7 separate regions of the Homo sapiens genome follow, and regions 2, 3, 4, 5, 6 and 7 are each linked to region 1. Evidence: promoter capture Hi-C in 16 types of primary human blood cells and fetal thymus (Javierre and others, 2016). All regions are on one chromosome and are shown on one strand. Each heading gives the region's core, a stretch centred on a gene start or on the middle of the fragment in contact. The rest is flanking DNA. Distances are from core to core; before and after follow the strand shown.

Region 1 (4,178 bases), core at 986-3,485:
CTCCCAAACTGCTGGGATTACAGGTGTGAGCCACCACACCAGGCCTATATCTTTATTATTACCAGAGTAACTTCCATGTAGTTACCTGGACTGGATTCCTAGAAGTGGTATTACTACATTAGAATATATTGAGATTTTTATTCCTACGTGTTTAACATCCCTAACAATGTTAAAACTGTCAAACTGTATTTATGCCAATCATGCATTCAACATTAATTGAGTTCCCACTGAGTCCTAGGTGTGGGGCTAGATGCTGAGGGCTCAAGTCAGAACAGGGCAGGGAGAGGAAGAAGTTAAAAAGCAGTTACAATTTTTTAACAATTACAACTATGGAAAACTTAAAGAAAACACATAATCTCCATTTTGGGCTCTGCCACTTTACAATACTCTGTGAAATAAAGAGACTAACTCGGCTGGGCGCTGTGGCTCACGCCTGTAATCCCAGCACTTTGGGAGGCTGAGGCAGGTGGATCACTTGAGGTCAGGAGTTCCAGATCAGCCTGGCCAACATGTCGAAACCCCATCTCTACCAAAAAATACAAAAATTAACCAGGTGTGGTGGCGTGCACCTGTAGCCCCAGTTACTCCAGAGGCTGAGGTGGGAGAATCACTTGAACCCAGGAAGCGGAGGCTGCATTGAGCCAGGATCGCACCACTGCACTCCAGCCTGGGCAACAGAACGAGACTATGTCTCAAAAGAAAAAAAGACTAACTCGTGTCCAAAGCAGTTGGGGGCTTTCCTTCCTATCCTCTCCGACAAGTCATTAACTTTCCTCAGCTTTCATTTACACCTTTAAAATGTAATCTATGTGGAGGGACAAGAGGAGTGACTAAGGGATACGGGTTTGAGAGTGGCAGTGATAGTAAAACTTTTAAAATTGAAGCGGTAATAGTTGCACTACTCTGTGAATATACTGTATTTTTAAAACCGCACTGAATTGTGCACTTTAAATAGGTAAAGTGTATGCTATGTGAATTATATCTCAATAAAGCTGTTCTAAAAAAAATAAAAAATAAAAGCCAGTCTTGCAAGTGTGAACGTTTTCAGAGGTCCCCCAGGGCTTACTTACCGCATCCCAAACCACCGCTGCGACTCCCAGGTGTCTCCAGTCCTGCCGGATCTGGATCGTGTGGTTTGCAAAGGAAAAAGTTGCAAGAGGCTTGTGGAATTTCTGCAACCCAAATTCCGTGGTCTCCTCATAGGGCACGAGGGCCATTCCGCCTGCACCCCGCCCTCTGCTCAGACCTGCCGTGCAAAAGAATCCTGGGTGACGCTCTGGCCAAAAGATACATTATCTGTTCTTAACTAACTCCAAATGCTTTTAAGGTCGTTTACAAGTTCAAAAGAAAAAAAGAAACAGGTGGAGGAAGCCTTTGTCCAATTTCTTTTGCATGGCTCTTCCGAATCTGAGTGAGATTTGGCTCGGAATTTGTGTCAACGGATGTGTTTGGGGAAGAAGAAAAAAAAAGCCCAGAACATTCCAACTTCCGCAGAATACCCTATACACTGCACTGCTACCACTCCGTGAATTCAGAACTACACAAGCGGCGGAAGCGGCGGTGATCGCCCAGGGCCCCAGAGCAGCGCGGAAAGCAGCGCTTCCAACCCAGACCCGGGCGCCCGGACTGCAGCTGCAGCCAGCCGGGCGGCCCGGGTTCTTTCGCTACGGTTTCGCTACCCACCTCCCCTCCTCCATCGGCTGCTTCGATAGTGATAACAATGGGACAGAACCTGCCCTTAGACTGGGTGTTAGCGGTTTGATAAACCAGAAATACATGGTCGCCGCAGTTCCGTCTCCCCGACCCTGGAAGTGAGCGACACTGGGGGCCTCCAAGCGGCTCGCGGGGACAGCGGGGACTCGGAGGCCTCCCCGAACTCCCCCTATAGCTGCCCCCCACTCACCCCTCTCCCGGGACGACCAGTGCGCCCTTCCTGCCCGGGGGCCCCGGAGCTGCGGCAACCCTCCAGGGGTGAGAGGGAGACCAGGCGAGGGGGGTCACAGGGCCTCTTAGGATCCCCAGGCCATACGGGGCGCCGTGAGCTGCCCGGCGGAGCACCCAGGGCTCGCCCAGGCCGGGCTGAGGCGCCGCCACGCCGGTACTTACGGCCCGGGAGGCGGTCCCGCGTGGAGCGCGCGCTCCGCTTTCCCCGCCCCGGGCTGGCTGCGAAAACCGCCGGCCTTAAAGAGCCCGCGACGCGGGGGCGGGCGGCCCCGGCCCGGAGCCACGCATTTCCGGTCTCCCGGCACCCAGCCTCCGGCAGGTGCCCCCGGAGCTCACGGCGAGGGCGGGGCCGGGCCGTGGCGCGGTGGAGGAGTGACGTTGCGGGAGGGGGGACCGGGGCTTTCCCTCGTGCGTCCCCAGGGTACACGGACGACTTAATCCGTTTCCCCCGCCGCCGAGGGAGGCGCTGTGGGGGCGGGAGCAAGAGTGAGATCGGGGTGCCGAACTGCCGCGGGTGCACAGGGAGAGCATGGGGTGCCCTGGGCTCTCCTAGCGGGAGAGAAAAGCCACCCACCTGGCGCTGAATGTGCCTCTCGACCTTTTCTATCATGTGCTCCGCCGCTCTCTGCCTCTGACTTTGTCGCTTGCGCGTTGTGCCTGTTTTTTAAAGGTGGCGCGTTAGCGGATGATGGAGACAGCTCGCTCCGAAGAAGGCATGGTCACTCTAGTCCCCGCGTCTCCACGGTGGGGTCAGAAGCGGCGTAATAGCCCGCTTGGCGGCAATCGAGTGGAAAAGTCACAAAACCCTTTTCAACTAAAGCACAGTGGGGGAAGTGAACACGTGGCGCCCGAGTCCAAGTTTTTAAAGTGGGGCGGGGGTCGGCGGGCTCTGGCTGCAGTCGGAAGCGCGGAGCTCTGGGCGTGCGCTCGGCTCCAGCCCCGGCCCCAGGCGGCGCTGCAGACTCCAGTGCCCCAGTCTCCCTCCTCCCGATGCCAAGACGCACCTGCCCGTGAGGACCCACGCTGGACGTGGAAGGTGCCGAGGGCCTGGTACCCTGGCCGCAGGCCCTGGCAGAGCGCGCGGCTGGAGTGGGTCCATTGAGTGGGACCGTGCGGGGACCGGCATCCTCCCGGGGCAGGCTTCTTTTTCCTCCTGGGGCCCCTCGCCCCACACCGCCCGCTGCGCTCTCAGCGCGGCTGCACGTTAGAACCAGCTGGGGTAAACCTCCCTTACCAGTCCCCCGCCCCAAGAGCTGGCCATGGGAGGGGGCCCGAGCGCTGATTTTTTTGTTTGGTTTTTTGCTTTTGTTTTTGTTTTTGTTTTTGTTTTGAGACGGAGTCTCTCTCTGTCGCCCAGGCTGGAGTGCAAGGGCGCGAACTCGGCTCACTGCAGTCTCCGCCTTCCGGGTTCAAGCGATTCTCCTGCCTCATTCTCCCGTGTAGCTAGGATTACAGGCCTGCGCCAGCACGCCAGCTAATTTTTGTGGGATTTTGTTTGTTTGTTTGAGACGGAGTCTTGCTCTGTCGCCAGGCTGGAGTGCAGTGGCGCGATCTCGGCTCACTGCAGCCTCCACCTCCCGGGTTCAAGCAGTTCTCCTGCCTCAGCCTCCAAAGTAGCTGGAATTACAGGCGCCCGCCGCCACACCCGGCTTTTTTTGTGTTTTTAGTAGAGACGGGGCTTCACCATGTTGGCCAGGCTGGCCTTGAACTCCTGATCTCCGGTGATCCGCTCATCTCAGCCTCCCAAAATGCGGGATTACAGGTGTGAACCACTGCCACCTCCCCCACCCCTACCGCCCGAGCGCTGATTTTTTTTTTTTATTATTATTATTCAGAGTTTCGCTCTTGTCACCCAGGGTGGAGTGCAATGGCATGATCTCGGCTCACTGCAACCTCCGCCTCCCAGGTTCAAGGGATTCTCCTGCCTCAGCCTCCAAGTAGCTTAGATTAAGGGGCCCACCACCACGACTGGCTAATTTTTGTATTTTTAGTAGAGACGGGGGTTTCACCACGTTGGCCAGACTGGTCTCGAACTCATGACTAAAGGTGATCCACCCGCCTCGGCCTCGCAAAGTGCTGGGATCACAGGCATGAGCCACCGCGCCCGGCAAGCGCTGATATTTTTAAGAGCTCCCGGGGCCGCCCCCGGGAGCCTGCTTCCCGCGGTGGGAGCCTGGCGGGGGCCTGAACCTCTCTCTCCTGGCCTCTTCCGTCCTGTAGGCGGCGTCCCCGGC
Region 2 (4,178 bases), core at 775-3,274, 510 kb before region 1:
ATATGTACCACTTTACTGAATTCCATACATGTTATAGTAATGGAAACGGATACATTTTAAAGGCAGAAACAACAAAATAAGCCTAAGTATATGTTTTATAATACCAGATGAGTAGTTTAGAATATAAAAGGAGTTTTAATCTGTAAATGTATTTTATTTTGCAAACAAAATAAAAGGGGTCTTACATGAATGCAGATAACTTTTGAAGGGAAGAAAAAAAAAGATGTCAGTTGCAAAAAAAAAAAGGGGGGGTATGCCAAGGAAGTTTGGTTTAGGACAAAGCTGGACTGAGGCTCCATAAGGAACCAGCAATGGGGCATTCTGATCTTTCCTCCCCTACAAGATTATGGGGTCCAATCCCGGGTCAGTCCCCAGCTCACCTAGCTCCATAAACATACATGTTGAAGGAGAAGGTAGGGTGAACAGAAATATGGAACAAAGCATGCTAAGCTTATTCTCATTGCAGACATCCTTAAATAATTGAAGTGCTTTCACCTCCATTATTTCACCACCCATTGGTGACTGAACATGGGGACACTGCAGGAGTGAGAAGTAACTCCATCAGTGGTTGGCTGAATAACCAGCACATTAAAAAGTCACCAACTTTTAATTATTTTAAGTGATCTTGCCTCGACCAACATTTAGCTTAATAATGTCATGTCAATACATTAACAAATTGTTGAAAGGAAGCCACTTTTAGAAAATGTAGAAAATCCAGTAGCAGAGGAGGGGTAGATGGGATGGTGCTGGAGTAAAGTGGGGGAATGCCATCCCAGTTCCCAACACTCCCCCATCATGTCTCCCTACCTGTTTACAGACTACTGAAATTCTATTAAGTTTCCCCTAATTGAAGGTTAAAAAACTAATAATAGAAGATTAAAGTGTTATACACTGGTGGATGGACGTATAATCCACTGACCACAACAGTCTACAGTGTACCAACCACAACAGTCTACAGTGTATTGCTACCAGATCCTTTCTGCTGTGAAGGATAGAGGAAAGCTGCAGGGCAGAAAGTGACAGAGTACAGGAAGGGATCAGATATTAGGTACTTAGGTAGGGAATGCAGAAGAAAAAAACCCCATATTTTAGAAAACAAGTTTGGCCAGGGCTATCCAGTTTGCCTCCATCAGGGTGAAGACAAATAGAAACTGCCTGCCTGGAAAGGGTTAGGCGTTCTCCATTCGGTACCGGAGTCGTGCAGCAGAGCTTAGTGTCATCTGACACATTCTGCCCCTGGTGGACCAGATTCCCAAACAGCTGCATTTACTCATCAGAACTAATTTCCTTATATGAAGTTTGTTTCCTGAGGATCCGTTATCAAGGTTTCAACTGTAATTTCTACTACATTCAAGCTGAATATTTTTCAAAGAAAGACAGGTCACCTTACAATTATTTTTCATCTGTCCTTATATTTTAATTTTTTTAAAAAGAGGACCATTCAAAACCAATTTGTTTAAAAAAATTAACACGTGAGTTTCTTAAACTCCATTTCTTTCTAATTCAAACACAATCACTACATTATTATTTCAACTTCAGGAAACATAGAAAATCCCTGCCTACCATCAATTCTTATAACGTCATCTTAGCCTTCACTCTTTACAAAGCTCCACATAGCTTTCCTTGAACCTTCCTATATTATATGTACAGGATAACCATGATCATGACGGTAATTAACACTCATATTATAATAGAAACAGCCTCTGTACATTATCAATTTATTAAAAGGAACAGTTTTTCTAAAAGTTTACACTTGGCCTTCTCAATGTCATTTTTTCATTTACACAGACTTCTCATGACCCTCTTCTTTTCTTCTCTATCAAACAGAACTCGCCCACCCTTGAAACCTTTGAATTTATAAAATTCTATTACTTTCACTGCCTTTTCTGAAATGAGATTCCTCTTTTCTCTTCTCCTTCCTCCCAGTTCCCCCACATCCCCCATCCAAACTATATTCTGAGATCAAGTTCCAAATATAATGATTTTATGAAACCATATTTCAGGCTTTTGTGTCAAAAAGCGAGGTCCTCGGCAATAAAGAGGGACTAGTGTATGTACAGTGGGTGTTCGAAAATATTGTTTATGATGAAATACTCATTAATTTCATGCTTTTCTTTCTCCTCGATTCTTATTTTAACATACTTATTTGCTTTGTGACTATCAATTATCCATTAAAAGGACATCTGGAATAGGCGTCCCACAAAGCCTATATTTATTATCATAGTATAATGATAAAATAAATGTGCTTGCTGTGTATATGCTGAGTTTAGGCCATGCTTCCCAATATATGTTTACATTAATTTATCTTCATAAATGTTAGGAGTTATCATATTGCTAAATTACCATGTGGTAAAGTTTTAAGATTTTACTGAATCAGAAAATTCTCCCAGCGATTGTTTTTCACCACCTCATTTCATACCCTTTCTTTTCAAACTTCTCTTAAGCTCTTGAATATGCTAAATCCAAATTATCAAACCCTCCTATTCAGCTCTCTCCACCTTGTGAACTGAACATTTAACCCTTATTCTTGTTTCCATCCCATAATCGGGGTTTAATGAGTTTCTGCCTCAACACATGGATAAACTTCATTAGCAGCCATGTGTCTCGGCATATTAAAGGCCCTTTAATGTCTTAAAATCGCCCCATTTCAGTTGCTATTGTATAAATTCAAAGAATTCTTATCTATGGCACTAGCAGGTTGAAAGTGGTTGATGAACCCCCTACAGTTCCACACTGAGGTATTAAATTTTATCCTGCTGATATGCCTGACCTTGAATTAGGGCTTCTATTTATATAAATTACTATACTATCACATTGACATCATTTAAAAAGATGAACAGCATCAATAAACACTCTGTCCAGAAGGAGAGAAGCGACTTGTTATCTCCAAATCTTCCATGCTGCCTCTGACTGCTGCTGCAAGCCCCTGCTTTCATTTACTGCCCCATCACCACCCTTCAGCACTCCTTCCCAAATGGACCACCCTGTTCTCCTTTGCTGGTCACTCCATGGTACAGTGCCTGACATCTATGGGCACTTAATACCTGTTCGCAGAAAGACTGAAGAACACATACAGTAAATAAGAAGCAAAACAATCTACTGAGTAGGATGTAAGCCTATAGGTCAGGAGACATGGGTCCAATTTAATTTCTAACAACAGGGACTTGCATAGCCTGAACCAAGTTACTTTTTTGTTGTTGTGGTTCCTCAGTTTCTCCCATGTTGTGATAATACTGACCTTTCTTATTTGATAGGGACAGAATATTAACATTTGTCATTTTAATGCGTGAACTGAGACTGGCATGTCTCTCTTTAACACTAACATTAAAAAAAGTGAAAATAGTAACAACCATAAAATAGTAGCTTTATCAGTAACGATAATAGGCCTGGAAATGGAAGACCATTTCTTTGTAATTTCCTTGTACTGCTTCTCAGTCACCTGATGAGGCAATATGTTTAAGGACCCTCCTAATTCTCACCTATTTAGAGAGGATATTTAGTTTTCATCGTCCATTTGCATTTAAACTATACGTCTTTAATTTCCTCTTAATAACAGGTTACTTTTAAAAAATTCATTTGACTTGTTTCCCCTTTATTAGTAAGCTTGGAAGTTAAGAGAGCTCCCACTGGAGCAATACTGTTTGGTGCAAATCCTTGCCCAACCATCTATGATGAGCTGTGTGACGCCAGGCAAATTACTTGACTTCTCTGGGTCTCATTTTCCTCATCTATAAAATAAGATGGTACCTATGTCATTGGGTTAGTATAAGGATTAAAAGGGTTAATATTTGTAAAACATTTAGAACAATGTCTGGGACATAGCAAGTGCTTTATATGTATTTGTTGAATAAGTAAAATAAACTGTATTTCAAACTTTAAAGGCCTTTCATTACATGTGTGACATAACACTTCTGTTTGCCTTTTGAATGCTACACTGGTCTTTTTGTTTGTAGTATTTTTAGCCACCTTTTCATTTGAAAATAAACTATTTCCCTAAATTCTGATTAAACTTACAGATTGTGCCACTTTCTGATTCAATAAGATGGGCCCCAAAGAAAATGTAAAATGCTAAGCAAATTGCACACTTGTATTACTTTTCCACCTGAAACGTATCCTGTTATATTGTTCGGGACAAAATCTAGAGAATGCTTATCACCACCCATGGTTTAGGTGACAGC
Region 3 (4,178 bases), core at 671-3,170, 490 kb before region 1:
TATCTTTCCCTATTAACATAGAAGTTTCAGGAGAACAGGGATTTAGTGTATGTACCAGTGAATCCCCAGCACCCAGCACAGTACCTGGAAAAGACATCCAAAACATACTAGTTGAATCAATCAGTGAACCAATGAAGCCACTAATCAATCCCGGAATTCCAGGGAACACGTGAGCTGGTGTCTCCAGTCAGAAAATCTATCCTAAAATGCTCACCTTATTAGGTCAAAAGGCTCCCTCATCATTTCTCCTCAGTGCGAGTTTTTACACTGAGAAGGCACTTGCTGCTTCGTACTCATCAGACAGAAGCCAAATGGAGCCTCTTTTCAAGGTGGAGAGGTCAGTTGTGGGTGCTTGTGGCTGCCCATTTCAAATAGACACAAAGAGGGCTTTTCTCCTCAGCAGTCCATATTGCATCATGCATTCACTAACATGAACAAAACCCACCCCTCCCCTCTCCTCACCTGCATAATGACTGCTTATTAACTGGTATCCTGGGTGAACAGATCAAAGAGACAGGCTCAGCCCACTTTATTCCCATTTCTGTCACCTAACAGGATGTCCCTGAGAAAGGCAACTCCAGCCACCAGTCTCTGAAGCACTTGAGGGTCACAGGAATTCATTCCCTGACATTAGCAGCCCCACTTCTATCAGTCCTTACATGAAAGGTCCTTAAATGAAGAGGTCCATTCAAACCTAGCAGTTGGCGAGGACTCGTGTTTTCTGTAAGCCCCACACACCACTTACACAGGTGAGGTCCTTTAAAATTCCTATGTGGGCCCATCCTGGTATCTTTGCCATAAATTCCTAAACACAGAAGCTTTTCCTTCCCTCCCACTCCCTTTAAGAATTTTACATGAAAAGGTATCTCTACTGAGAAGTGCTATTTATTTCAGGATCATTATTTCACAGATACAGAACCCTCGAACACTGAACCTGGAAGTGAGCCAAAATCCAATTAAGAGGGTATGGAGTTTGAACTAGGCAAGAGTGGAGGATGGAAATATGGAATATAAGCAGTACAGGGTTCCTATGAGTGTGAGTGTGTGTGTGCATTCACATGTGCATAGTGTGCCACTGTTAATGAAGTGTAGATTCTCTTTAATGTATTTTGGATGCCTCTCTCTCTAAATCTTTCGTTGTCCCTAGAGTCACAAAGATGTTCTTTCTCTTATTCATTATGTCAGGCAATAGGAATCTTTCCCATCCTGGCTGGGGAAAGATGAGGGAGAGGGGAAGAGTTGATGTTCCATCATGTAAAGAAAAGTAAAATTGTGCTTTGCCCAATTCTGAACCCCATTGCAATGTTGCAGATTTCAAATTAACAATTCAACCCAACATGACAGGGAAAAAAATCAAGTGCTGAGACCCTGAAGTTTGGATTCCAGTAGCTCTGGCACCTCACTTAACCTTAGGTGGCTTGACTGATACCGAATGACATGCACTTTCAGGCACACCAGACTCTCATTGAGGAAGAGACATTAATTTGAATCATCACTGCCATCCCCTCTCCCCTTTGTTCCTGTCTGAACCAATTTCCATATAGTTTCAAAGAAATCATCAGCCCATGCAAAGGAGAAATCCCAGTGGAGCAAGAACTACATTAGCAGCATAAGGGGGAAAATCTAATTTCCAATCCAGTTGCTTTGTTGTTTCAACCTCCAAGGAAGGTTGCTACATATGCACAACACAAATTAAGTTTTAAAACACCATCATGATTTAAAATTAATAAACACTCTCATGGGAAAAAGGTGGTCCTTGATACAAATCTTCTCATACAATGAAGGTCAACTCCACCAGAGCTTGTGGGTGGTCTGGGTCTTTGAGGTCTCAATCATCTCAGCCAAAAAAATATTTAAGAACAGCATATATTCATTGAAACCACTGCATCTGCTACTTATAGTTAATGGTGAGTTCATTCTTAGTCTAAGGCAGTATCCACATTAAGAATTCTTAAACTACCTTGTTGACAGATCCCATGGAAATGTATTTTAGTGGTCCAAATTAAGAATTCTTTTTTGGCATGACAAGATATGCCAATACAATTTCCTAGTGCCCTACTTACTAGAATAAAACTCATGGCAAGACACCAGTGTGACTACATCATTAATTAACCTGAACCACATACCGGAACACTGCTGCTAATAAAACTCCTCTATAAAGAAAACATGTTTTCTCTGCTGAGAATCCTGGAATGTAGGCCCCAGCAGAGCTGCTGCCTTAAATAAGGAGATATTTCGATGTTTGTGTCTGTGTCTGCGATTGCCACGAAATTTGGTCATTTATTTGGCTTGATCTTCAATAACTTGAGTTCTTCCTTGCGTGTGCTTTTTTGGAAAAGAAAATGAAAATGGCGCCTACACTATCAGGATTTGCTAACAACTATGTGAATGAGAGGATCCTTTTTGCGAAGGTAGGGGATGCTTTATCCTCACTCTTTTGAAAGCACGCCCTGAGCTTTCAGCCCACGAGGTACTGAATCAGAGACCTGTAGAAACCATCCATCTTCTCTAGAAAACAGGCTGACAGAAACAGGAGCAAAGCTGTAACAGCTCTAACTCCCAGGTGAAACTGGGATTTTTCCAATCCATTCCATATGAAATGACATACATTTCTTTTTTCTTTTACAGAGAATTCTTTTGGGAAAAGCATCTGAAAATGCTTATCGATACTTATCTGGTAATCTTGTAACCTTGGAGTCCCCCTGTGAGACTGTAATAGGCAGCAAAGATTAAAATCCCCATCCTATTTATGGGGAACCTAACTTAGTAAAGAAAACTGAGTTTTTCACTGTTCTGTAACCATACTACCAAAAAGACCAGAAACAGAACGAAAAGTTTCTTGGCCACTAACAATTAGGTTTTTTTTTTTCTGGTCCAACCCTGAACTTTCCACCAAGGATCTCAAAACATTCTAAAAATCCAACAAACCATTATCTCTTAGTACCTTGGAAAAACAAGGATTCCTGATGAAGATTTTGGATCTTCTCAAGTTGGAAACCATCAGATCCCAAACTTCATTTCATAAGCTTTTCAACTACATTTCTCTACGTAATCTCTCCTGGTGAGACTGGGGCAAATAGTCTTGGTTTTGACAACACCCTTAATTATGCAATTTCCGAGTTCTCTCTGGTCATTGCAAGTCTTGGTTGAATTGTTAAAAGCAAATGGGATTTCAGACATTTCAACCTGTCAACATCAAGTGTAGTCATTGAGAGGAAAACAGATAGAATTAGAATCATTTTTTAAGATCTTTTTTTTCTTTTCTGAGACAAGAGTCTTTCTTTTTTGAGACAGTCGCCAGGCTGGAGTGCAGTGGCGCAATCTCAGTTCACTGCAACCTCTGCCTCCCAGGTTCAAGCGATTCTCCTGCCTCAGCCTTCCGAATAGCTGGGACTATAGGTGCCCGCCATCACACCCAGCTAATTTTTGTATTTTTAGTAGAGATGGGGTTTCACCATGTTGGCCAAGATGGTCTCAATCTCTTGACCTCGTGGTCCGCCCACCTCGGCCTCCCAAAGTGCTGGGATTACAGGCATGAGCCACTGGGCCTGGCCTGTTTTTTTAAGATTTGAATTGAGAAAACTTATAAACACAATTTATTGAAGACCTTATTTTGGTTATTTGATTAATACCAAATACATAGAAACTCAAATTTATATAATTTTTAAAGGGGGGATTTGAACCTGCTATCCAACATTTTAAAAAACATTTTCTAATTTTAATAAATATGAAAATACAAATTGGACTAAATAAGTCAACATTTTTCTCCCAGTCCTTAGAGACTAATGCATTTTCCAACACCAGTATCATATATCACCCATCCCTTTTGTTCAAAACAGAAAATGCAGTGAGGAAAAAAAAGCATGTAAGAAATAGAAGCAACAAGAGGAGTAAAAATAGGAGCAATGGAAAACAGATGAACAGTAAGCATCTCATTCTTGTATAAAAATCTTGGATGCCAGTAGCTGCTCCCATCAGTAACACACCTCTAACCAAGAGGATCATCAAACTCTGGGAAGCAGATCACCTCAAGGGCACAATTTACACTTGGCCCTGCTCCCTACATGGAGCCTAAACATTAAAGTAGTTGTGTCTATAATCACCTGTTAGTAACAGACTAAAAAGAAGGGTGGGCCAGTGGGTGAGGAAGACTATTGTGATTCAGAAATGTATGCTGG
Region 4 (4,178 bases), core at 771-3,270, 470 kb after region 1:
CTAACACTCTTGTGGCTTCCTGGATTTCTTGCTTCCATCCTTCCTCTCATTTGTCAGTTCTTTGTCTTTAAGGAAACAGGCCCGATTGCATCAAGCCTGCTGAAAGGCTTCAGTGGTCCTCTATTACCTGAAAGTACTTAAAACCCTGATCTACCCACTTTCTAGTCTTCGCTGCCCTTCACCTCTATCCGCCCCTTATGTCTTGTACTCTAGCCATGCTGGGCTCCACACTGTCTGCTATGTACCATGCCCCACCATGCCTCCCTATGTTCATGTCTTTTTCATGCTGTTCTGGTGCCAACAATGTCCTCCTACTTTCTCAATTGTTAAATACCTAATCAGAATTTAAAATCCATTTCAAATGTCATCTCCATGGAAGATAGAAAATCCTCTTTTACCTACACAGGGTGAATTCATGTATTTCCTCTTCCATGCTCTGCAGCCCTTCACATCCTGGGCACCTACAAAGCTAACCACATTTTACTTTATGGAGTTAATTGTGGGTCTGGCTCCTCTGGCTAGACTCTAAGCTCTCTAAGGGGAAAGGCTCTGACTTATTCCTCTTTGCATTCCCACAACCAGATACAGTGATTGGCACAGAGTAAAAGCTCAATCAATGCTATTCTTTCTCCCTTTTCCTTAGTGGCAGCGACTTTATCTTATCATCCCTGAAATGTTTCTGCTTAACTCAGCAGCGTTAAGACCTGGGACATAAAAGGCACTCAACCGTTATTAAAGGATGAGTTGAATTCATGTCGTGGCTGTCATGTATCTTTTTTTTTTTTTTTTTTTTTGAGATGGACTCTTGCTCTGTCACCCAGGCTGGAGTGCAGTGGCACGATCTCAGCTCACTGCAACCTCCGACTCCCTGGTTCAAGGGATTCTCCTGCCTCAGCCTCCCAAGTAGTTGGGATTACAGGTACCTGCCACCATGCCCAGCTATTTTTTGTATTTTTAGTATAGACGGGGTTTCACCATGTTGGCCAGGCTGGTCTCAATCTCCAGACCTCGTGATCTGCCTTCCTTGGCCTCCCAAAGTGCTGGCATTACAGGTGTGAGCCACCGCACCCGGCCCATAGCATCTCCTAACCTGTGTCTCACTCCATGTTGAGGTTGGCTGTTCTTGAACCCTTCTTAGTTCCTACCTGCTCAAGTCCACCCAGCTACCAACACCTATTACCTGCAGACTTTACCCTTCTAATCATTAAACCAATGAGAAAATCTGCTAGTCAACCTATTAGAAAACTTGACTATTCAGGTGTTGGGGCTTTTTCTGCCAACATATGTTATAGTCAGTGTTCTTTGAAGTAATAGAGGTGAGCAAAATCACAAAATACTGCCTAGACATTAAGCTACTTCTGCCCACCAGCCAGCCTTCCCTCTAATGGGAATTGCATTTTGCTTCACTGGCTTCAGCTTCTTGCCTGAGGTCCCTACTGGGATGGATGCCCAGAATCGGGCAGTAGCCTGCTAGGTGTGGGTCCCTGGTACCTGGCCAAGCTCCTGATGTCCATATTCATTGCTTTCGCTATCCCTTCTATTGAGTAAATTACTGCTAGAAATGCCACGGCCCAGGAAAAAATATACACATTTTCCTGTAACCACCCCTCACACCCTTCTTCTATGTCCAAGTGTCTCCTTATCCACAGAGAGGCAGTATCACTTAATGGTGAAATGTGGGGACTCTGGAGTCAGAAAACTCTGGCCTCCAATCCTGGTTTTGCAACTTTTATTTGTATGTGGCACTGGACTAATTCTTTAATTTCTGAACATATATCCTTGTTAAATGCAGATACTACTAGTACCTGACTCATATGTTTGTTACGAAAAGATTGAAAAATCAAATGGATGTGAAGTAAATGACACTATGCCCGACACCCTTGAAACAGTCTAGGAATGTTGTTGATTATTATTATTGGCTGCGTGGCAGGAAAAAACACTGTGAAAACAGCAGGGAAGCCTTCCAAAGCTGTGGTCCTTTCAGCAGCTGCTCAACACTTGCTCACTGCTGCATGGGTTATATTATACAGCACCGAGAAGCCAGCTTTACATATCTGGAAATAGATTCCAGATACTTAAAGAATGTGATTTTTGGCTGGGCACGGTAGCTCACACCTGCAATCCTAGCACTCTGGGAAACCAAGGCAGTCTGATTGTTTGAGCCCAGGAGTTAGAGATAAGCCTGGCCAACATGGCAAAACCCAGTCTCTACAAAAAAGTACAAAAATTATCTGGGAGTGGTGGTGTTATGAGATCTTTGGGGTGTCACTTTTCTGGCTGGAAACCTCTGTGGCCAGTGGCACTTTTGCCTGAGTTCTTGTCCTGCGTCCAGAAAGAATGGGGTATGCAGACAAGTGGAGGGTGAACAAGACAAAGAGGCACTTTACTGGGTGTTAGAACAGCTTAGAGGAGACCCATAGTGAGTAGCTCGTCTCTGTTGAGTCTTCAGCTCTCAGCAGAGAGGTGGCTCTGGAATTGGTGGCTCCTCTCTGCAGGCAGGTCAACCTGTCAAGTGTTCAGCTATAGCAGAGAGGAGGCCTAGAGTGGGTTACATGAGATATTTTGATACAGGTATGCAAAGTGTAATAGTCACATCAGGGTAGGTGGGGGTATCCATCCCCTCAAGCATTTATCTTTTGTGTTACAAACAATCCAATTATGTTCTTAGTTATCTTAAAATATACAATTACATTTTTTTTTTACTATACTCACCCTGTTGTGCTATTAATAACTAGGTCCTATTCATTCTTTCTATTTTTGTGTGTGTCCATTAATCATCTCTGTATTAGTCCATTCTCACATTGCTATAAAGAAATACCTGAGGCTGGGTTATTTATTTATTTATTTATTTATTTATTTATTTATTTATTTGGAGATGAAGTCTCACTCTGTTGCCCAGGCTGGAGTGCAATGGTGCAATCTTGGCTCACTGCAGTCTTTGCCTCCTGGATTCAAGCAATTCTCCTGCTTCAGCCTCCCAAGTAGCTGGGATTACAGGTGTGCGCCACCATGCCCAGCTAATTTTTGTACTTTTAGTAGAGGCAGGGTTTCACCATGTTGGCCAGGTTGTTCTTGAACTTCTGACCTCAATGATCTGTCCACCTTGGCCTCCCAAAGTGCTGGGATTACAGGCATGAGCCACTGTGCCCTGCCAAGACTGGGTAATTTATAAAGAAAAGAGGTTTCATTGGCTCACAGTTCCACAGGCTGTACAGGAAGCATGATGCTGATATCTGCTCAGCTTCTTGGGGGCCTCAGGGAACTTACAATCATGGTGAAAGGCAAAGGGATAGCAGCCTGTCACATGGTTGGAGCAGGAGCAAGAGAGCGAGCGAGCAGGGAGATGCTACACACTTTTAAACAACCAGATCTCGTGAGAACTCACTAATTATCACGAGAACAGCACCGAGGGGTGATGCTAAACCATTCACAAGAAATCTGCCCCTGGGATTCAATCACCTCTCACCAGCCCTCACTTCCAACACTGGGGATTACAATTTCACATGAGACTCGGGCAGGTACACAGATCCAAATTATATCAATCCCCACTTCCCTCCTCATCCCCCACTACCCTTCCCAGCCTCTAGTAACCATCCTTCTACTCTCTATCTTTATGAGTGAAATTGTTTTAATTTTTAGCTCCCACAAATACGTGAGAACGTGTGATGTTTGTCTTTCTTATTTCACTTAACATGATGACCTCCAGTTCCATCCATGTTGTTGCGAAGGACAGGATCTCATTCTTTTTTACGGCTGAATAGTATTCCATTGTGTATATGTACCAGGAAAGGGTATGCTTCAAAGCCAGAGTCTGGTGACCGCATAGGGCTTTGGGATCTGGGTTTATTTGCAGTGCTTTCCTTTCATGTGGTACATAAAGCCCCAAAGGTATGAGAACATAAACGGTATTTGTGAGCTATATCAACAGTTCTGAATTCCCATCTTCTATACCAGAGTCAGCTGGGAGTACGCGGGTTCAGACTGTCAACCTAAGTAACAGAGAGGGACTCTCTAAAAGTAAATGATATTTCTTTGGGAATGAAGCATTGCAATGGGAATATGCGTGCCACAGTAAACTATGTGCATATTCAGGGAGGTAAAAGAAGACAAAGGTTTTCAAAGGAAAAAATGAGGAGGATTGCATAATTGTTTTGAAATAATTATCCTTGGCTACAAAG
Region 5 (4,178 bases), core at 1,177-3,676, 450 kb after region 1:
GGATATTTATTCACCTGTTTCCCTATTGCTGTGTCTCCACAGGTTGGCTGCATCCTTCTTCTGAAGGCCACTGCTCTTTTCAGAAGACCTCCCTAGATGGCTAAGCTCTCTGGGTTGCAACAGTTGCTCTTTTTCCTTGAGCCTTAGGTTAGGGAGTTGGGAGGAAGTAATGGCTTCCCCCACTGCTAGCTCCAGGGTGCTACACTTTCTCTTTTCTAGTTTCCCTAATCTGGCTTACACCATTATAGATAGACCCTTTATTAAAATATCCTCAATTTATCCATATTGAGTGTGCCATCTGCTTCTTTTTCGGATGCTGATGCTTCAGAGTGATATGGGAAAGTATCCCAGGCATTTTTGTCTCATTCATCACACCTAGAAAGATAATTTAGGATTTGATGATGAAATAGCATGGTAGAAAATATAGCATACAAAGTTTTTCCTTGGAAGACAATCACTGGACATTCTCAAGAATGGCAAGAGAAGGCATAATAAAAATAGCTGCCAGATGGGGGACAGGACTGACTTGCAGCTCTCATGCTGACTTGCAGCATGAGGAGACTCACATTGTGAACTTTTGCTCCAAGAACTACTGCAAGAACATACCAGGAAAACCAAAAGAATTCACAGACCCTTTGAAAGAAGAGTTTGCCGCTGCAAACTCCAAGACACAGCTGAAAAACCGTGAGTGCCCAGAGTGTGAGAGGGGGAAAGTCTCTTTCCAAACACACATCCTCACTGGGGAGCCTGAAAATCCATATCATGGGAGAAGGATTTAACCTTACCTAGAGCTGAGGCGAATTTAGAGAGCTGAGCAAAATATAAAAGTAGAAGCAGCAGCAGGAAGAGCCCTGTAGGCACTCCCGGTCCCCAGGGAAGCTCAGAGAACCCATTTCTGACTTTATCTCACAGGGGCCCTTGTGGGGAGCGGGCTGCCAGTGGAATTAGGGAAAGCCCACAGGGAGAAGGAAACTTCCAGCTGAACTTTATAATGATTTCAAGCATGAATTTTCCAGAGCAGAATCTGGGGTCGGGGGCAAACAGGAAGTCCAGATAGGAGCACAGAAGCCGCAGCGAGGAGGGGAAGGCCTGAAAGCCCTGCTTGCTTTATTAGGCGCGAGGCTTGTATGGTGGCGGTGGAGGGAGTTCCCAGTCCTGCTCACTGGCAAATAAACTCACCTAGATATAAACTCGGTGCTGTCGAGGAGCACTGGGAGAGTGAGACTGGCCTTTCAGTCTGCGTGGGAGCTGGGTGAGGCCCGTCACTGCCAGTTTTCCGCAACTTCCCTGGCGACCTGTATGACAGCAGAGGCAGCCATAGTCCTACTGGGAACCTACTCCAATGGCCTGAGAACCACACCCCCTCCCCCAAGGTGGCTGCGGCAAGCCCCGCCCAAGGAGAGTCTGAGCTCAGACCCACCTGACTCTACCCCCACCAGATAGATGGTCTTTCTCCACCTGCCCTGGTAGCCAAAAACAAAAGACGTACAACTCATGGAAGTTCTAGGGCCCCGCCCATCACCTGAGAAACCTGAAGGCTCATCCAGGAGACCCTAGGGCAAGCTTGCGTCCCCCCATACTACCGCAGCTGAAGTTGTCTGAAGTTGTCTTGAAAGCGCCACCTCCTAGCTGGAGGCCAACCAACACAAACTGTTACAGCAACTCATCAAAGAATAACCCTGCCCCAAGAAAGGAGAAAACAATGGTTAACTCCACTGCCTGTAACATCCTGGCTAACCAGAGGTCCTAAGTCTGTCCACATGATAGCTTTACTGTCAGTACAACCAGCATTTGAGAAAACCGGCACGCTAAACAAAACTACAACCAAGTACTCTTACAGAGTCCGCTTCACTCCTCTGCTACCTCCACTGGAGCAGGTGCTGGTATCCACAGCTGAGAGATCTGAAGATGGAGCACATCACAGGACTCTTTGCAGACCCTCCTCAGTACCAGCCCAGAGCCCAGTAGCTCCACTGGGTGGCTAGACCCAGAAGAGAAATAACAATCACTGCAGTCTGGTTCTCAGGAAGTCCTATCTCAAGGGGAAAGGGGAGAGCCCCACAGCAAGGGAGCACCCTATGGGACAAAAGAATCTGAACAGCAGCCCTTGAGCCCCAGATCTTCCCTCTGACATAGTCTACCCAAATGAGAAGGAACCAGAAAAACAATTCTGGTAATATGATAAAACAAGGCACTTTAACACCCCCAAAAGATCACACTAGCTCACCAGCAATGGATCCTGTGAAAGGAAAATATCTTGGGCCCCAAAATCACTAGGAAAAACTAGCTGGAAATTGCTTAGGGCAAATCTGCCTTCCATTCTATTCAAAGTTATCCCTCTGCTCATTGAGATAGATGCATATCTGATTGCCTTCTTTGGAAAGGCTAATCAGAAACTCAAAAGAATGCACTGTTTGTGTTTCACCTAACTGTGACCTGGAAGATCCCTCCCTGCTTTGAATCTTCCTGTCTTTGCTTCAAGTTGTCCCGCCTTTCCAGATAGAACCAATGTACTTCTTACATATATTGATTGTTGTCTTCTGTCTCCCTAAAATGGATAAAACCAAGCTGTGCCCCCGACCACCTTGGGCATGTCATCAGAACTCCCTGAGGCAGTGTCATGGTCCGTCCTCAACCTTGGCAAAATAAACTTTCTAAATTAACTGAGAGCTGTCTCAGGTTTTCTAGGTTCACAATCCAAACCAAGAAGAAATCTCTAAATGGCCAGCAAAAAAATTCAGAAGGTCGATTATTAAGCTACTCAGGGAGGCACCAGAGAAAGGTAAATACCAACTTAAAGACATTTTAAAAATGTTACAGGGTATGGAAGGAAAAATCTCCAGAGAAATAGATAGCATAAATAAGAAACAATCACAACTCCTGGAGATGAAGGACACACTTAGAGAATTGCAAAATACACTGGAAAGTCTCAACAATAGAATAGAACAAGTAGAAGAAAGAACTTAAGAGCTTGAAGACAAGGCTTTCGAATTAGCCCAATCTGAGAAAGACAAAGAAAAACAAATTAAAAAAATGAACGAAGTCTCCAAGAAGTTTGGGATTATGTTAAATGACCAAAACTAAGAATAACTGGCGTTCCTGAGGAAGAAGAGAAATCTAAAAGTCTGGAAAACATTTGAGAGAATAATTGAGGAAAACTTTTCCAGGCTTGCTAGAGATCTAGCCATCCAAATACAAGAAGCTCAAAGAACATCTGGGAAATTCATCGCAAAAAGATCATCCCCTAGGCACATAGTTATCACGTTATCTAAAATCAAGATGAAGGAAAGAAGCTTAAGAGCCATAAGGCAAAAGCTTCAGGTAATGTATAAAAGAATATCTATCAGATTAATAGCAGATTTCTCAGCAGACACCTTGCAACCTAGAAAGGATTGGGGTCCTATCTTTAGCCTCCTTAAACAAAACAATTATCAGCCAAGAAATTTGTATCCAGCAAAACTAAGCTTCATAAATAAAGAAAAGATACAGTCTTTTTCAGGCAAACAAATGCTGAGAGAATTTGCACTACCAAGCCAGCACTACAAGCACCGCTAAAAGGAGTGCTAAATCTTGAAGCAAAGCCTCAAAATACACCAAAATAGGCCGAGCATGGTGGCTCAAGCCTGTAATCCCAGCAGTTTGGGAGACCAAGGTGGGCAGATCACGAGTTCAGGAGATCAAGACCATCCTGGCTAACACAGTGAAACCCTGTCTCTACTAAAACCACAAAAAATTAGCCAGGTGTGGTGGCACACACCTGTAGTCCCAGATACTCTGGAGGCTGAGTCATGAGAATTGCTTGAACCTGGGAGGCAGAAGTTGCAGTGAGCCGAGAGTGCACCACTGCATTCCAGCCTGGGTGACACAGCGAGTCCCCATAACAAAATAAAAAAAGAAAAAAGAAATACACCGAAATAGAACCTTCTTAGAGCATAAATCTCACAGGACCTATAAAACAATAAAATAATTTTAAAAAAACATAAGGTATTCAGGCAACAACTTGCACGATGAAGAGAATGACACCTCACATCTCAATACTAATGCCAAATGTAAATGGCCTAAATACTCCACTTAAAAGCTACAGAATGGCAGAATGAATAAGAATTCACCAACTAAACATCTGCTGGCTTCCAGAGACTCACCTAACACGTAAGGACTCAGATAAACTTACGGTAAAG
Region 6 (4,178 bases), core at 863-3,362, 430 kb after region 1:
GCATCTGTCAAGCAATGTTGATGATCTCATCAAAAGTGATATTCCCACTGTGTTTAATGTTTTTCTGTTTCTTTCTGTCTCTTGGTGGTTCCTTGAGGGCTTTGATGATCAGGGCAGAGGCAGAAGGCACTACCTCAATCTGGGCCTGTCTGTTCTGAATGGTCAGTTTCACTGTAATTCTCAGGCCCTTCCAGTCACCCATTGCCTTGGCAATGTCATCACCAATCTTTTTTGGAGACAGACCCAGTGGGCCGATCTTGGGGTCCAGCGCAGACGTGGCACTGACTTCACCCCCAGTGCACCTCAGGTATACGACTTTGATCCCGTTGGGGTCGAACTTCTGCAGCATGGTGGAGGTGGCTGGTGATGGATGAACCCGGATTCAGGATGACGGAAGAAAGTTGCACCTTGGCCTCCTCCAAGCCAAGAGCCGAAAGAACCCAAGGTCTTTATAAGGTATATCCCTCTCACAGCTTTTTGTGGACTCATGTTTTACTTATTGTTTTGTTAAAAGCAATGGCAACAAAAGCCAAAATAGACAAATGGGATCTAATTAAACTAAAGAGCTTCTGTACAGCAAAAGAAACTACCATCAGAGTAAACAGGCAACCTACAGAATGGGAGAAAATTTCTGCAATCTACCCATCTGACAAAGGACTAATATCCAGAATCTTCAAAGAACTTAAACAAATTTACAGGAAAAAATCAAACAACCCCATCAAAAAGTGGGCAAAGGATATGAACAGACAGTTTTCAAAAGAAGACATTTATGCAGCCAACAGACACATGAAAAAATGCTCATCATCACTGGTCATCAGAGAAATGCAAATCAAAACCACAATGATTAGAATGGTGATCATTAAAGTCAGGAAACAACAGATGCTGGAGAGGATGTGGAGAAATAAGAATGCTTTTACACTGTTGGTGGGAGTATAAACTAGTTCAACCACTGTGGAAGACAGTATGGCGATTTCTCAAGGATCTAGAACTAGAAATACCATTTGACCCAGTGATTCCATTACTGGGTATAAACCCAAAGGATTTTAAATCATGCTGCTATAAAGACACATGCACAAGTATGTTTATTGTGGCACTATTCACAATAGCAAAGACTTGGAACCAACACACATGTCCATCAGTGATAGACTGGATTAAGAAAATGTGGCACATTACTATGCAGCCATAAAAAATGATGAGTTCACGTCCTTTGTAGGGACATGGATGAAGCTGGAAACCATCATTCTCAGCAAACTATCCCAAGGACAAAAAACCAAACACCGCATGTTCTCACTCACAGGTGGGAATTGAACAATGAGAACACTTGGACACAGGAAGGGGAACATCACACACCCCGGACTGTTTTGGGGTGTGGGGAGGGGGGAGGGGGGAGGGATAGCATTAGGAGATATACCTAATGTAAATGACGAGTTAATGGGTGCAGCACACCAACATGGCACATATATACATATGTAACAAACCTGCATGTTGTGCACATGTACCCTAGAACTTAAAATATAATAAAAAATATATATATATTAAAAAAAAGAAAATGTGGCACATATACACCATGGAATACTATGCAGCCATAAAAATGGATGAGTTCATGTCCTTTGTAGCGACATGGATGAAGCTGGAAAGCATCATTCTGAGCAAGCTATCGCAAGGACAGAAAATCAAACACCACATGTTCTCACTCATAGGTGGGAATTGAACAATGAGAACACTTGGACACAGGGCAGGGAACATCACATACCCCGGCCTGTCGTGGGGTGGGGGGATAGGGGAGAGATAGCATTAGGAGAAATACCTAATGTAAATGACAAGTTAATGGGTGCAGCAATCAAACACGGCACATGTATACATATGTAACAAACCTGCACGTTGTGCACGTGTACCCTAGAACTTAAAGTATATATATAAAAAAAGAGCTACTTTTAACTAAAAGAATAATAATTAATACTACTGAGAGCTTTTCACCTGAACACCTCAAAGCACTGCACATGCCTTAACCCCTTTATGGTCTCATTGAGGTATGTGTTTGCTCTTAAAGACTTTTCACAATTTCACAAGCAAAACTCAAATGATCCATTATATCTAAGAAGTCAAGGCAAACCCTCTGGGAATAAAGAGCTGCCTAGGAATAATAGTAGGGCTACCTTATGAGACATGGTGAAAGTCCTGGGCACAGTGTCTTGTGGATGGCAGATGCTGAAAAAAGGTCCCATGTTTCCAATGCAGAGATCACAATAGGGCCTGGTTATGCCTTTGAGGCCTCAGCCCATGAGGCCCACCAGGTAACCAAAGCACTGTGATCGTGCACCATCAGCCTGAATAGAGCCACTTGCAAGTTATAACTTTATCTCTGCTCCTGATTATGTGAAAAACGGCAAACAACTTTGTTTAACCTCCACTTACTTTTTTCCCCTCCTTGACTATAGTTGAAATCAGCTGTATTAGGCCATTCTTGCATTGCTATAAAGAAATACCTGAGACTGGGTAATTTATAAAGGAAAGAGATTTAATTGGCTCATATTCCTGCAGGCTATACAGGAGGCATGGTGCTGGCATCTGCTTGGCTTCTGGTGAATCCTCAGGGAGCTTTTATTCATGGTGGAAGGTGAAGTGGGAGCTGGCACTTCACACGGCAAAAGCAAGAGCAAGAGAGAGAGAGTGAAGGTGGGGGTACCACACACTTTTAAATTACCAGATCTCATGAGAACTCACTCACTATCTCCAGGACAGGTCCAAGCCATGAGAAATCTGCCCCCATGACCTTAACACCTCCCATCAGGACCCATCTCCAACACTGGGGATTACATTTCAACATGAGGTTTGGGCAAGGACATGTATCTAGATTATATCATCAACTAGATCCAAACAGCTTTTGCTATCAATGACAATATTTATTTAATCCCTCCCCCCTTTTTCTTTTGAGACAGGGTCTCGCTCTGTCATCCAGGCTGGAGTGCAGTGGCGTGATCACAGCTCACTGCAACCTTTGCTTCCCAGACTCAAGCAATTCTCTAGCCTCAGCCTCCCAAGTAGCTGGGACTACAGGTGTGAGCCACCATGCTTGGCTGATTTGTGTGTTTGTCTGTGTGTGTGTAAATGGGGTTTCACTATGTTGACCAGGCTCGAACTCCTGAACTCAAAGCAATCTGCCTACTTTGGCCTCCCAAAGTGCTGGGATTACAGGCGTGAGCCACTCCACCCAGACTATTTAATCCTTTTTGTTTGTTTGTTTGAGACAGAGTTTCGCTCTTGTTGCCCAGGCTGGAGTGCAATGGCATGGTCTCGACTCACTGCAACCTCCGCCTCCCGGGTTCAAGCGATTCTCCTGCCTCGGCCTCCCGAGTAGCTTACAGGCGTGCATCACCATGCCTGGCTAATTTTGTATTTTTAGTAGAGTCGGGGTTTCTCCATGTTGGTCAAGCTGGTCTCAAACTCCCAACCTCAGGTGATCTGCCCGCCTTGGCCTCCCAAAGTGCTGGGATTACAGGCGTGAGACACCTCACCCGGCCTTATTTAATCCTTTTTATAGAAGGATAATGCTTGAGACCTTCAGAAATGATCAAATGATGATTTGCCATATCTTCTTTCACATTTAGGTTAAACACTGTCCTGGGAACAACTCTAATTGGGGATGAAAGAAGAATAGAAAAGGACAATATAACTTATGCTAGGTTATTAAAACTTAGTGGGAAGTAACCAAGTATCTTGAATAATGTGTCTAAAATAGATCTCTATGGTTTTGCCCCAAACCTGCTCCTTCTCCAATAGTCACCTCTTTTTAATACATGGTACTGGTATTCGCCCAGTTACTCAAACCAAAAACTAGAGAGCCACCCTGGGCTCTTCCTCTCCCTCCACTCCCAAATTCAGTCCATCTGTAAGTCCTGTTAGTTTGTCTTCCAAAAAAATTCCCACATTCTTCCACTTTGCTTCTTTTTTTGTCCTCTGTGGTCCCCTGGTCCAAGCCCCTGTCATCTGTCACATGATCAGCACAGTGACTTCTGACCAGCCTCCCCCTTTCCCCCTCACTACAGTCCATTTTCTCCATGGCAGCCAAATTTAAAGATCACACGTGTCATACCCCTGCAAAAAAGCATCCTTTCTCGCAGAACAAAATCCAAACTCCTTTTGGGGAACCTGGAGTACCTACTTGCTCTAGGCACTGT
Region 7 (4,178 bases), core at 1,181-3,680, 410 kb after region 1:
ACATATAGTCATCCTTCCAGTTTAAGATCTAAGAGCAATACTCAAACAGAAATCAAATAAATGTCTATGACAATTAAGGCAAACATACTCATTTGTCTACAAGCAAAGAGCATTTTGGAAAGAACACTCCCTTGTTCAAATTTTGGTGAACTGGTTGTGGAGACAAAAGTGACTCCATCTTGGATGCTAATCTGCCATGTTGACTTCTGATTAACCCCAGTCTGGGGAATGCCTCTAAGATTTCTATTTTTATCTATGTATACTGTCTGTAAATCCTGTTCTTAGGCCAAGACACCCTTGATGTTATCAAATCCTGCCCTTAGGCTATGACACACATAGCATTCTTCCCTTTTCCTGAGAGGTGGACTTCAATTGTCCTTATACATTCCTTCTAAAGCACATATACCCTTTCTCTGTGGTATATATCTGGGAGAAAACTGTGGAAATCTACCTGTCTGGCAGCTGCCCAAGACCATCCTTTTGTCCATAAGTTCCCCAGTAAATAACCCTCTACTGACAAACTGGATTTGTCTGCCTTGTTCTTTGGTTTCTTGGTTCCTTCTGCATTTGGGGGTTGGTTTGCGTATATGGCCCTTTCATGAAGCACACATCATGTCTTTTGTTTTTTTATTTTTAAGATACCAGGTCTTGCTCTGTTGCCCAGACTTGAGTGCAGTGGCGCAATCATAGCTCACTGCAGCCTTGAACTCCCACCTCAGCCTCCTGAATAGCTGGGACTACAGGATCAGGCCACTACACCTGGCTAATTTAAATTTGTCTTTCTCTTTTTTTACAAAGATAGGACGTTGCCCAGGCTAGTCTAAAACTCCTGGCCTTAAGTGACCCTCTTGCGTTAGCCTCCCAAAATGTTGGTACTATAGGCACGAGACACTGCACCTGGCCTGTTTTTTTGTTTTTTGTTTTTTTTTTATATCTTACCTAAGGTCCACTCCTATCTCTAACAGCCCCATCTCTTTTCTTTTCTTATGTGATCTAAAAATCTTCCCCCAACACTACACTGAGACCCAAATGAGCTTTTTTTTTTTTTTTGAGATGGAGTTTCACTCTTGTTGCTCAGGCCAAGATCATGCCACTGCACTCCAGCCTGGGTGACAGAGTGAGACCCTGTCTCAACAACAACAACAACAACTGCAGATCAAAGTTAAAGAAAGTAAGAACTAAATGGAGCATCTTTTTAGTTTTACCAAGTAGACTATTTCTTTGTCTAGGATGTCTTTCTAGAACCCAGAAACAGAAAATGGCTCTTTTATCCTGTTGGCTTCAATATAATCATTCTTCCTAGGAGGCATATGATGTGGGTGATGGGTGGGTATGTGGTGGGGAGAGGCCCTGTGATACTTAATGAGCTGCAAATAACTCACTCCCATGTATTTGTGTGAGTGGAGTCACCCTACCTACTTATGCTAGCCTGTTTTCACACTCAGTTGATTCAAAAACTGTTGAATCAGACCACTCTGGAGCTTCTGAAAAAGTCCTCCAGACAACGGTGGGCAAGAGCAGGTTGCAACCAGGTTCCATTTACGGCAGTGTTTCTGAATGTTGTTTTGTACATTTTTATTACAAAACAGTTCACGATCGAACTTATTCACACTTTCATGTTGGAGCACTCGATCCTTCCTAAATAAATTAATGTTGCCCCGTTTCCACATTCTGTGTCTGGGATATAACTTGTCTTCAAATATAAGTAAGCATTCTCATTATCAGAAAAAAGAGTTGCAAGGCATCAGGAGAGAGAGCCACAGAGGAAAATATTCCAAAGATCTTGGCATTCTTCCTATAACTTTTGTACCCTCAATCTTTTTCTTCCACATTTATGAAGCTTTTAAAACATTTTCCACCCTGAATGGCACACATTTACTGGGGTGACTTTACATTGTTTGCATTATTGTGGTTCTGGGACGTGAAGTTCTTAGAGGACAGGGGCATGTTTAGAATCACATCCTACAGAGAAGTGTTTAGTAAGTAGGAATGAGAAACATCGTCCGCAAGCATTTAAGGGAGTCTGTTTCCATTTTCAGTAAGGGCAGGTTGTCACTCAACAGGCAGATGACCCAATAGACACAGTGGTATGTTTGGTTCCTGGGAGGGATGGATGTGTAGAGAAAGGGAGGAAAAGAGGAAGAAAGCAACATTAAGCCTGATCCCTGCCATAAGCTGAGCTCCTCACCACACGCACATGCACGCACAGACACATACACACACACACACTCGCTCCTTGGCACGCAGACACACACAGAGCTTTGCTATTCTTCGGCTAATGGGATTGGCACCGCTTAAAGCAGACTGCTAGGTCATTGTCTGTGACCACAGCAAGAGAAACATTATTTAAAGACCATTCAGACCCTAAAAGAAGCGGCTGAGCAGAGTAATTATCGGAGACTCTCCATTAACTAGGGCATCTTTGCTCTTTGTCTGGGTTGGTTTAACAAGGCCCGCTAATGGGACTGTACAGGAGGGGTACACTAATGGTTCTAAAAAAGCCTCTTTTGGCCCCTTTATTACTGGGGACTGTCTTTAGAGATGCTGACAGTAAAGCAAGAAGTTACCATATTACAAAATGACCTTCCCAAAAATTTGATTTGGACCCTTGCAGCTTAGGACTCAGGTTTCCAAAATTAGAAAACATCTTTGTCTTCTCCACTTTTTAAAACTCTAAGTTGGTTCCCCGCTGCCCCCTGCCAACCCCCCGCTCCCCCGCCACTGTTCCTCTTACCTTACTTGGCCCTTTGGTTTCTTGGGAACTTGTCATTGGAAACAGCAGCACTCAGTGGTGATAAAGCAGAATGGCACTCCTGAGGAATTTCTCCTTGAGCTGGCTTCTCTACTCACTCTCCAGGACTCCACTTCTCTAGAAAAACTGCCTGTCCCATTATCACTTTTAAAATATGAAGCTAGAAGTCAATCACATGCTTACAAACCTAATACGGCCACCTAAATTAAAACTACTGTTCCATAATCAGTTAGCTTTATAACAAAGGCTTCAAATGCTTAGCTCTCCTAGAAGCTTGCATCACATACAGGGAACTCTTCTGTGCAGAGCTGTCTACCTCTCTTCATTTCCCCTCTCCCAACCCTAGACCAAGCTTCCATCTTCTCTCCTCTGGGTGACTGCAATTGTCCTGCAATCACCTCCTAGCAGCACTATTGGCCCTTTCAATCCATTAACTCTGCAACAGCCAACAGCCAGAGTAGCTCTTTCAAAACAGAAACCTGCTTAAGCATTTCAGTAGCTTCCTATTGCTCATAAGAATTCTTACTGTGATTTAAGAGACCCAGACATGGTCTGGTCCTTTTTTCCTCCCTAGCAACATCTTGTACCATGCTCCCCCTAGCGTCTGCTTCAGCCACTGCAGCCTTCTTCAATGCCATGAGCAATTCATGCTCATTCCTGCCACAGGGCCTTTGCATATCATTCTGTCTAGAACACTCTTTACCCGAGTAGTTTCCACTCATCCTTCAGCTCTCAGCTCAGTAGTCAGCCCTTCAGGAAAGTTGTCCCTTAGTGCCCCTTCTAGGTTGACGACGTCTATATCATGCAATTATAGCACCATATGCTCCTCTTCACAGCATTTACAGTAAACGTTTATACTTATCAGAATGCTTTTATGTTAATAATTACCTTGCTGTGAAACTGTAAGCTTCATGAGAATAACCACATGTTCCATAAGCAATAATTCTGCCTATTTTTGTTGTACCATCCTGTCCTCAGTGCCCAGTACAATGTTTGTGACCTGAGTGCTTAATAAATCTTTGTTGCATTGTGTATAGTGATTCAAAATACTGTACCCCGGCTCCTCCATGCCTGTTCGCAATTTTTTTTTTTTTTTAGATGGAGTCTTGCTCTGTCGCTCAAGTGATTCTCCTGCCTCAGCCTCCTGGGTAGCTGGGACTACAGGCACGTGCCACCACGCCTGGCTATTTTTTTTTCATTTTTTTTTTTTTTAGTAGAAATGGGGTTTCACCGTGTTAGCCAGGATGGCCTCAATCTCCTGACCTCATGATCTGCCCGCCTCAGTCTCCCAAAGTGTTGGGATTACAGGCGTGAGCCACTGCGCCTGGCCGCCTGTTTGCAATTTATCAACCAAAGTTTATTCCCTGAGAGGTTCCTATGTCCGGTATATTTGGGAACTACCTATATTCCATATTTTCTCAGATCA

What was found. Contacts are between HindIII fragments. The CHiCAGO score rates a contact against its expected background, and 5 or more counts as called.
Region 2: a contact is called between a fragment that was not itself captured here and the fragment with the promoter of METTL21A in region 1, in 1 of 17 cell types (neutrophils). The highest score is 7.8, in neutrophils.
Region 3: a contact is called between a fragment that was not itself captured here and the fragment with the promoter of METTL21A in region 1, in 2 of 17 cell types (neutrophils and monocytes). The highest score is 6.2, in neutrophils.
Region 4: a fragment that was not itself captured here is called in contact with the fragment with the promoter of METTL21A in region 1 in 1 of 17 cell types (M2 macrophages); the score reaches 5.6 in M2 macrophages.
Region 5: a contact is called between a fragment that was not itself captured here and the fragment with the promoter of METTL21A in region 1, in 3 of 17 cell types (megakaryocytes, endothelial precursors and erythroblasts). The highest score is 7.1, in megakaryocytes.
Region 6: a contact is called between a fragment that was not itself captured here and the fragment with the promoter of METTL21A in region 1, in 13 of 17 cell types (megakaryocytes, M2 macrophages, erythroblasts and 10 more). The highest score is 11.8, in megakaryocytes.
Region 7: a fragment that was not itself captured here is called in contact with the fragment with the promoter of METTL21A in region 1 in 17 of 17 cell types (total B cells, naive B cells, M2 macrophages and 14 more); the score reaches 11.9 in total B cells.

What each region holds. Positions count from the first base shown.
Region 1 is chr2:207,623,159-207,627,336 of GRCh38, forward strand. It overlaps METTL21A (methyltransferase 21A, HSPA lysine), which reads right to left and starts at 2,236. Exons shown (of 4, transcript NM_001127395.5): 1 at 1,904-2,236; 2 at 1,071-1,246. The coding sequence starts at 1,217. RefSeq lists a silencer at 1,832-2,431 and enhancers at 2,702-3,406, 3,407-4,109. The HindIII fragment of the contact is 10,824 bases long and covers 1-4,178 here.
Region 2 is chr2:207,114,945-207,119,122 of GRCh38, forward strand. The region is part of intron 2 of KLF7 (KLF transcription factor 7); the gene reads right to left. Among named protein-coding and RNA genes, the nearest start is that of MIR2355, 7.0 kb to the left of the region's middle. The HindIII fragment of the contact is 3,153 bases long and covers 449-3,601 here.
Region 3 is chr2:207,136,633-207,140,810 of GRCh38, forward strand. The region is part of intron 1 of KLF7 (KLF transcription factor 7); the gene reads right to left. Among named protein-coding and RNA genes, the nearest start is that of KLF7, 27 kb to the right of the region's middle. The HindIII fragment of the contact is 2,208 bases long and covers 817-3,024 here.
Region 4 is chr2:208,096,054-208,100,231 of GRCh38, forward strand. No RefSeq gene overlaps it. Among named protein-coding and RNA genes, the nearest start is that of CRYGD, 26 kb to the right of the region's middle. The HindIII fragment of the contact is 9,375 bases long and covers 1-4,178 here.
Region 5 is chr2:208,076,914-208,081,091 of GRCh38, forward strand. LOC105373854 (a long non-coding RNA gene) reads left to right here. Exons shown (of 4, transcript XR_923815.3): 4 at 43-285. Among named protein-coding and RNA genes, the nearest start is that of CRYGD, 46 kb to the right of the region's middle. The HindIII fragment of the contact is 1,730 bases long and covers 1,562-3,291 here.
Region 6 is chr2:208,057,397-208,061,574 of GRCh38, forward strand. It overlaps the pseudogene RPL12P17. Among named protein-coding and RNA genes, the nearest start is that of PLEKHM3, 34 kb to the left of the region's middle. The HindIII fragment of the contact is 7,297 bases long and covers 1-4,178 here.
Region 7 is chr2:208,037,614-208,041,791 of GRCh38, forward strand. No RefSeq gene overlaps it. Among named protein-coding and RNA genes, the nearest start is that of PLEKHM3, 14 kb to the left of the region's middle. The HindIII fragment of the contact is 1,185 bases long and covers 1,839-3,023 here.